Linked DNA regions of Homo sapiens: region 1 is linked to region 2. The links are contacts of gene promoters, found by promoter capture Hi-C in blood cells and fetal thymus (Javierre and others, 2016). All regions are on one chromosome and are shown on one strand. Each heading gives the region's core, a stretch centred on a gene start or on the middle of the fragment in contact. The rest is flanking DNA. Distances are from core to core; before and after follow the strand shown.

Region 1 (3,909 bases), core at 579-3,078, 38 kb after region 2:
GTAGTCCCAGCACTCAAGAGGCTGAGGTGGGGGGACTGCTTAAGCCCAGGGAGGCTGAGGCTGCAGTGAGCTGAGATCACCCCACTGTATTCCAGCCTGGGCGACAGAGCGAGACCCTGTCTCAAAAAAAGAAGAAGCAGAAGAGGCCAAGATGGGAATCTCCAGCCCAGAGAAGGCGGGGCAGGGGAGTGGCACTCAATGTCCCTGAGTTGCTGAACCTCCCACACACCAAGTGGCTGCAGTCATCTGGGCACCTCCTCCCTTCACTCCCTAACCCCAGGCAGTGTCTCAAAGAGGGCAACACCCTCCACTCAGAAATGCTCAGCACAGAAACGTGACCATGGAGCAGAGCTTAGACATGGGTGACACCCGGCCACCAGGCCTGTCTGAAGCAGGGCTTAAGTCCTAGGTAAGGACTTCTCAGCAGTACCCCCTCTCCCCTGCAAAGAGTGGGTCAGAAGCTGCCCTAGACTGGGCGGTACCAGAGCTGAGGCCAGGGTGCCCACATCTCAGTGAACTCTTGACACAAAAATTCGGTACCAGAAGGCAGCTCTTCATCTGCAAGAACCTTCTCAACCTTTGGTTTTTCTGTCTCCTTGCCCTCGGGTCTTTCCTTCCCAACATGGCGCTGGGATCCAGGGGGTGATGAGAGGCTGTTCAATCTTGCTGCCTCCTACATCCTGCCCTCCAGCCATGCCATGTGGGTGCGGCCCTGGCTGTGTTACCAGATGACCTCAGGCAAGTTTCCTCCTCTGAAAGGGCAGAGGATCTAACAAGATAGCATGTCAGGAAGCATCTGGCATGCAGGACCAACCGATCGTTCGCTGATGAAGCTAAAAGCTTCTGATCCTTCCCAGGAACCCACCATTCTCAGCCCAATTCCTGTTTGTTCACCTGTACTTTTTGGTAATTAAAAAAGTCCTAAGTCTCACCCAACATGCCTGAGCAATTCCAGATCTGGCTAAGGACTGATACCAAAAAGCAGAAGACTGATCTTGAGAGCCTGTTCTAGCCCTTTCTACCACCCCGTGTCAGACCGCAGACCACATCACACCACACCATGTTAACTACGCCACACCACATACTCCCATCTCACCACACCAACCACATCGCCTCTGTTCTGCTGCCACGAGGCAGCATGGCACCTGGAGAGCCTGTCACCGGCCTTCCTGGTCCCTGCCAGGGTGCCAGAAGCACCATCACTCCACTCCTGCCCAGGACGTCTCCTGGCCTTCGCGGTGCCAGCCACTCAGCTAACCTGCACTGCCCAGTTCTGAAGTCAGGTGCCAGCTAAGTGTCTGTCAGGCCTTAGTCCAGTACCTCCATATGGATGCTGACAGTGTACAGCTCACTCAGGATTTCCTTCTTAATGTGTCCCGTTTTGCCCCTAGAGACCTTATGCAGACTTCCTAATTAGAGCACTGCATTCCTCAGGAAATAGGTGAGCAGAGCACATCAAGAGGCTTATTTTACTTTTGACATTATCCTGTTTTAGGGCAGTTTTTTTCAGTAATGAGAAGGTACCAGATGCCCTGGAAATCTGACACACCCATTTGGGACTTGGAGAGGACAAGAGCAAGGCCAGGAAAGTCAACTCCAGGGGAGTCTCTGGACTCCACAGGACCAGCTAAGAAGGTGTCCTTGGACTGTCCTTGTCAGCCATTCACACCACAGCAGGGGACAAGCACTATGCCCTGCAGAAGGCTGCCAAACACCTCTTAGCACTGACTCACTCTTTCCACTTCCCACTTCCTGCAAACAGTTTCCTTGACAATTTCCAACTCCTGGATAAAGGGACATCACTTCCTTTGGGAGTTAGATGAGTTTTCACTAAATGTGGATGTGAGAGCTAGATAAAATATTAGTCACTTGTTCTTAAAAATTGTGGGCAGGATAGTGTCTGTCATGGTTCAAATCAGACTTGTAATTTTAAAAAAGGTGATTTTTTTGTTTGTTTGTTTTTGAGACAGGGTCTTGCTCTGTCGCCCAGGCTGGAGAGCAAGGGTGCAATCACAGCTTACTGCAACCTTGACTCCCTGGGCTCAAGTGATCCTCCCACCTCAGTCTCCCAAGTAGCTGGGATCACAGCCATGCACCACTATGTCCAGCTAATTTTTAAATTTTTTGCAGAGATAGGGTCTCGCTGTATGTTGCCCAGGCTGGTCTCAAACTCCTGGCCTCAAGCGATCTGCCTGCCTCAGCCTCTCAAAGTACTGGGATTACAGGCGTGAGCCACTGTGCCTGGCCGAAAAGGTGATTCTTGATTGAGGGCAAACACACTTTAATTAGTCCCACCCACCAGCCTGGTCTCGGTGGGTCCACTGAGAAAGGCTAGGCATTTGCTGAGGAGGCTCAGTCCTCTGAGCATGAGGTAGGAAGAGGATGGGACAGGTAGCAATGCTGGCTGAGAAGGTAGGTCCCACTGAGGGCACAGATGGGCTCAGGCAGCACAGATGACCGAGAGGAATACCCAAGAGTGGTCCATCCCCGTCTTAGGCACCCCCATGGACACCCACCTGCTTGGTCCTCTGCCTGGGTCACTGGCTGGTGCCAAAGGCCTGCTCCATTCTGCAGCCACAGCACCCAGCCCATGGGGATGGTCAGGCAGGGCTTGAGAAGACTCCTGCCTCCTGGGGCCTGGCTTACACCTACAAGAAACAGCCACCCATTTGTAGATACCCACTGCTAATGCCTAAGGACCCTCTCTTGCTGGCCAGTTCTCCTGTCCCTTGAACTTGATCCACAACAGTAAGGAGTAAAAACAAAGGGCCAGAGGAGGCCCTTCAGAGTCTGGGAAGATGAGGTGTCAGAATCTGCAAAGCTTGGTTTCCAAGTTGTTAAAACAGGCATAGTTAAGACCAGCCTGGGCAACACAGTGAATGCCCATCTCTACAAAAAATTACAAAGTTAGCTGGGTGCAGTGGTGTATACCTGTGGTCCTAGCTGCTTGGGAGGCTGAGATGAAAGGATCTCTTGAGCCCAAGAGGTTGAGGCTACAGTGAACCATGATCATGCCACTGCACTAATTGGGCAACAGAGCAAGACCCTGTCTCAAAAAAAAAAAAAAAAGAAGAAAGAAAGAAAAGAAAAACAGGCACAGGATCTTAGGAGGTAGAGAGGACCTCCTTCCTGTACCAGGGTCCCCTCTACCACACTCATGGCCATTGTAATCCCAACACTTTGGAAGGCCAAGGTGGGTGGTTCACCTGAGGTCAGGAGTTTGAGACTAGCCTGACCAACATGGTGAAACCCCATCTCTACTAAAAATACAAAAATTAGCCAGACGTGGTTGTGTAATCCAGCCAGGATTACACGCCTGTAATCCCAGCAACTTGGGAGGCTGAGGCAGGAAAATCACTTGAATCCAAGAGGTGGAGGCTGCAGTGAGCCAAGGTTGCACCACTGCACTCCAGCCAGGGCAACAAAGTGAGACTCCATCTCAAAAAAAAAAAAAAATTGTCAGAGGCTCTAAGGAAGGACTTTGATGTGCTCAGGCTGTTCTAGGAGAGTGTGGGCAGTCCCCCAGGGCTCACCTCCCCACCCTGCCTTGCCTGTTTTCCATGACACTCACTTTTCCAGCCTTCCCTACAGCTAGAGGCAGTTCAATGACCCAGCTATGGCCAGTGAGACATAAATGAAAGTCTGATATGAACCCTCATTGTAAGATGACACAGGTATACATAATACATACATACAGATGCACATGTATCAGTCAGAGTAAGTGGTTTATCAGTGAGATGAAGTGAGGTCAGTACAGGAGGCTTTTAAAGAGGTTCCATGTAGACCAAGAGAGTGACAGCTAAAGTCAAGGCAACCAGCACAGTTTAAAGTGGGAAAGTGTGAGACTCCGAAGCACGGATCTACAAATTGGGAAACAGGGCACCTGTAATAGGATCGATGCAAATAGCC
Region 2 (4,036 bases), core at 458-2,957:
AATTCTGAGGACAACTGACTGTCTCTCTGTACCTCAGTGTCCCCATCTGCACCATCCGTATAATGGGAAAGGGGTTTGAGGAGCTGTCTCAGGGCCCCTCCTGTACAGACAGGAGGCCCTAGTGGCACTGTCCTTATTTCCATCCCTCGCCTAGACCTGGGGCCATGGTACCAGTACACAGTGCTCACCCTCCTGCTCAGACAAACAGTAACGGCCAGAAGCTCCAAGCCTCCTGCCCCAGCCCAAGGTGACTTTCCTGGCAGAACCTGGGACTGCCCTGCCCTGCCCTGCCTCCACCCAGCTCCCGGGCAAGCAGTGCCAGGAGGAAGTGTCAGCAGCTCCTCCCCAAAGCTCTTTTCCCCACAGCCCCGCCACCCCCGTACCTGGGCCCCGATTCTCCAGGCACCCCGACACCTGCTCTCACAGGCCGGCCAGCCCCCACCACCCAACTCTCCACCGAGGGAAAGGAATGGGCACAAGAGGGGGCGTGTCCCGGCCCAGGGCGATGGGAAACATCTCACTAGCAAAGAAGAGATCAACCCATGGTCATTCTGAGAAGGTGACCAAAGCTGCGGCGGGCCCCGGGAGGGGTGTGGGAAAGGAAACCAGGGACTCTCAGGAGGGAACGGGAGCCTTGTGGTAGAAAAGGAGCTGCTGTCCCCGATCTGGAACTCGAAACCCCAACATCTTCCAGGCCGTAAGCCCCTCACCCCGCACCCCTAGGCAAATCTCCGCTTTCCCAACTCCCTCACCTCGGTCCAGCGATCAGCCTCTCGGACCCTCGAGAGGGAGCTCCGACCCTGCTCTAGCTCTTGCGGGTCCCCCAACCATGGACTCCAAAGCCTTCATGTCCACACTGCAGAACCCGGCCCTGGCCCCCTCCCGCGACACTCGCGTGCGGCTAGGACTCCTGTGGCCAGGACCCGGCTTCCACCGGCGCTCGGCGTGCGGGGCTGCAAAGCCCGCGGCGCGCCCGCCCCCACTCCCGCTCCGCTCCCGGAACCCCGCGCCGGCGGCCGGAGTGAATCATTAACTGGAGCCGGGTGCTCCGGCTGCGCAGCCTTCCCCGCTGGCGCCACGCACTTGCCCGCCCGGCCTCGGTCCCCCGGAGCTCCTCCCTCTCCGGGAGCCGGTGGGCAGTCCCCACGCCACACCAGCCGGACCACCCGCCAGAGGCTCAACGGCCCCTCCTCGCAGCCGAGGAAACTGAGGCTCGGAGGCAGGGCGCAGAGGCCCAAGGTGACACAGCAGGCGGCCGTCGGCCGGGGAGCGCGGGCCCCGCCAGCCACTTTCCCGACACAGGAACCCTCCTACCGGCTGGCGGCCCCCGCGCCCGGCCCCGCCAACGCACCCGAGGCGCACAGGCTCCGGAGCCCCCGCGGTTCCTGCCTCCCGGCTTCCCGGCCAGGGCAGAAGGAGATCCCAGGGCCGCGGACCCCGGCCGGCGGTTCCCAGGCCCCGCAGGTCCGGCAGGAAATGCCGCTCGCTTAACCCCTTCCAGCCCGCTGCCGCCTCCAAGCCCGTACGCGGCCCGGCCCCACCTGGCGCCCTCACCAGGTGGTTCATGGTGTCCGGCGGGCCTGGGGCCCCGGCTCTCGCGGGGGCGCACACCGAGCTGCCCGGGCCGCGTGCCCTCGGGGCTCCGAGCGCGCCGCAGCCGCCCCGGTGCCGCCGCGCAGCTGCCGCCTCGGCCACCCAGAGCCGGTCCAGCCGCTCTCCGCCTGCCGCCACGGCCCAGCCGGCCCAGCCCGATCCCAGCATGCCCGGCCGCGCGCGCCCATTGGCCGCCGCCGCTCTCCATGCAAATAAGCCGCCTGTCGGGGGCGCGGGCGCGCAGACAGAAGCCCGCCCAGTAGGGGCCGCCCCCCGCCCCGCCCCCCACCTCCAACCCCGAGGCTCCAGGCCCCTGCCCGAGGCCAGGCTTCCAGCCTAGGGCGCAGGACACCGCTCTCCAACAAATGCACGTCCCCGCCTTCCACCCAGGCGAGAACGCACCGAAGGCCTACGCAAACTCCTCCACTTCTGGGAAGGCTGCCCGGTTTGCCTTCTTCCTCCAGAGCCGAGACATGGCCTCAAGTCGACTTGTCTTTCCCGCTAACCAACCCCAGGGCATTCATCGCGTGTCCATGGGCCGTGGGACTCAAATCTGAATCTAGAGGGAAAGGGGAGGGGGCGTGCCCCAGCCTGTAGGAGACGAATCATCACCACCACAGCTCCGACTGTAGACGGTCCCACCGTGTAAGGACCCCAGGAAATGAAGCCTCAAGCAGGGAGGCTGGCGAGCTCTCGACCCAGCGCTTTTCACGGGCAGCACCTACCTTCCCCTGCATTGTGCCGACATCTGGGGACTCGGGCTGGTCCTCCAGCTGATCTGCCTCCTCTCATTACTCATTCCTAGGTTCAGCCTAAAACCTGGGCCTAGTACCCTCCTGAGTCCTGCTCCAACTCATCTGCTTCAGCGACATGGGGTAGGAGAGCGGCACTGGGGGAATGAGGGAGATAGAAGGAAGAATCACTCGGGGGAAACCGAGTGGAGACAACCTTGGCTCTCCTGAGTTGCCCCTTGCTCGGTTGCAGGTCAGTGACTGTCACCCCATGCAGCAGAACCAGGGTGCCAGAGCCCCTGGGCCAGGCCAGGGAGGCACAATCTGCAGGGAGATGATAGGACCGAGCCTGGTCCAGACCAGACAGGACCCTCAGTCAACAATCCTGGGCCACTGGCTGAGCAATGGGATGCCACGAGGCAGCCCTGGTGGCAGGGAAGCAGCGGGGTAGACCCGGCTTCACGCAGCAGAGAATTCTCAAGCATGGCCTATGGAAGACACAAGCCCAGGTGGGCCTGCAGCTGCCCCTCTGTCTGACCCCCAGGGCTCAGCCTACGCAGCGCCTGGCCAGATGTGCCACCTTGGCAGGCCCTCTCCCCTCTCTGGGCTCCTTTCTCATCTGAAAAGGGGCTAGGACAGCCCATGATTTGCTGCTCAGGTGCTCTGGGGAGCTAGTTAAAAAACAGACTCCTGTGTCCCACCCCTCCCAAAAAACTGGACGTCTGCATTTCTTCAATATTTGGCTTGGGAAGCATTGGCCAGAACTCACAGCACAGCGGGTGAGGAAGGAGCAGTGGGATGAGACAGAGCATGACCCAGAGTCCTCAGGAGGAACAGAACAGCTAGCCAACACCCTGTGCCTCCCCGACACAGCCCGCCTCGCCTCAGAAGAGGAGCCAGCCTTCAGGGAAGCTGCCTGGAGCATCTCCTCCTGCTTGTTCCCAAGAGCTGTGCCGGGCCCCTCCTGCACCCTGACCCTGTCCAGCCACCCACTCCTCAGCCTGGCTGGCACACCAGCTTCCCAGAGAGCAGGTCTGAACCAGCGGGACCCTCAGGAGCCTGAGGTCATCCCTGGGCCTCCACTTCTGTGGGGAGGGGAGACCAGGCCTCATGGGCAGGCAGTGCCCTGCTGGCAGGGCCCCAGGCAGCAGTCTCTGCAGGGACGGGCAAGGACACAAAAGGCCTGGCCCTCAAGGGAGCTGGCCCCTGCTCCATCCTAGTTGGCCAAGGAGGGCGGTGCAGAGAGGAGGTGGATGGCTGGAACCTTGGGGGATGAGACCCTCCTCCCCCAGTAGCTGCATTAGAACAGCACTGGGGGTGGGGCTGCTGGTGTGAGCAGGAGGCAGCAAGGGAAACAGGCTCCGACACAGGCATTTCAAAAATTTGCTCCTTTTCCACTTAAATTCCCTCCCCCAAAAGCCTGTGCCTCCCAGAATGGCATTTCCGCTTTGGAAACAAGGCCCCAGAAGTTAAGCCCCACAGTGTTGATGGGGATGTAGCTGGGGGGTGGGGGAGGAGCACCCACTGGCCAGGCTCTGGCCGGGGTATATGGGGGCAGAACCTCACCCCACCCCCAGTCCAGCCTCCCGGACCTCCGCTGTCAAGGACAGGGATGCAGCCCCACATACCCAGCACAGCCTCTGCGCCCAGCCAGTGCCAGGGGCCCTATGCCCATGCATTTATTTTGTGCACACAGCAATCCTGCAAAACAG

The links. Contacts are between HindIII fragments. The CHiCAGO score rates a contact against its expected background, and 5 or more counts as called.
Region 1: a fragment that was not itself captured here is called in contact with the fragment with the promoter of BCAR1 in region 2 in 4 of 17 cell types (endothelial precursors, M2 macrophages, M1 macrophages and 1 more); the score reaches 12.7 in endothelial precursors.

What each region holds. Positions count from the first base shown.
Region 1 is chr16:75,287,656-75,291,564 of GRCh38, forward strand. No RefSeq gene overlaps it. Among named protein-coding and RNA genes, the nearest start is that of BCAR1, 38 kb to the left of the region's middle. The HindIII fragment of the contact is 1,981 bases long and covers 839-2,819 here.
Region 2 is chr16:75,249,917-75,253,952 of GRCh38, forward strand. BCAR1 (BCAR1 scaffold protein, Cas family member) reads right to left here and starts at 1,708. Exons shown (of 7, transcript NM_014567.5): 1 at 1,555-1,708. The coding sequence starts at 1,566. RefSeq lists silencers at 1,591-1,750, 1,811-1,920 and enhancers at 1,920-2,460, 3,001-3,541, 3,542-4,036. The HindIII fragment of the contact is 27,287 bases long and covers 1-4,036 here.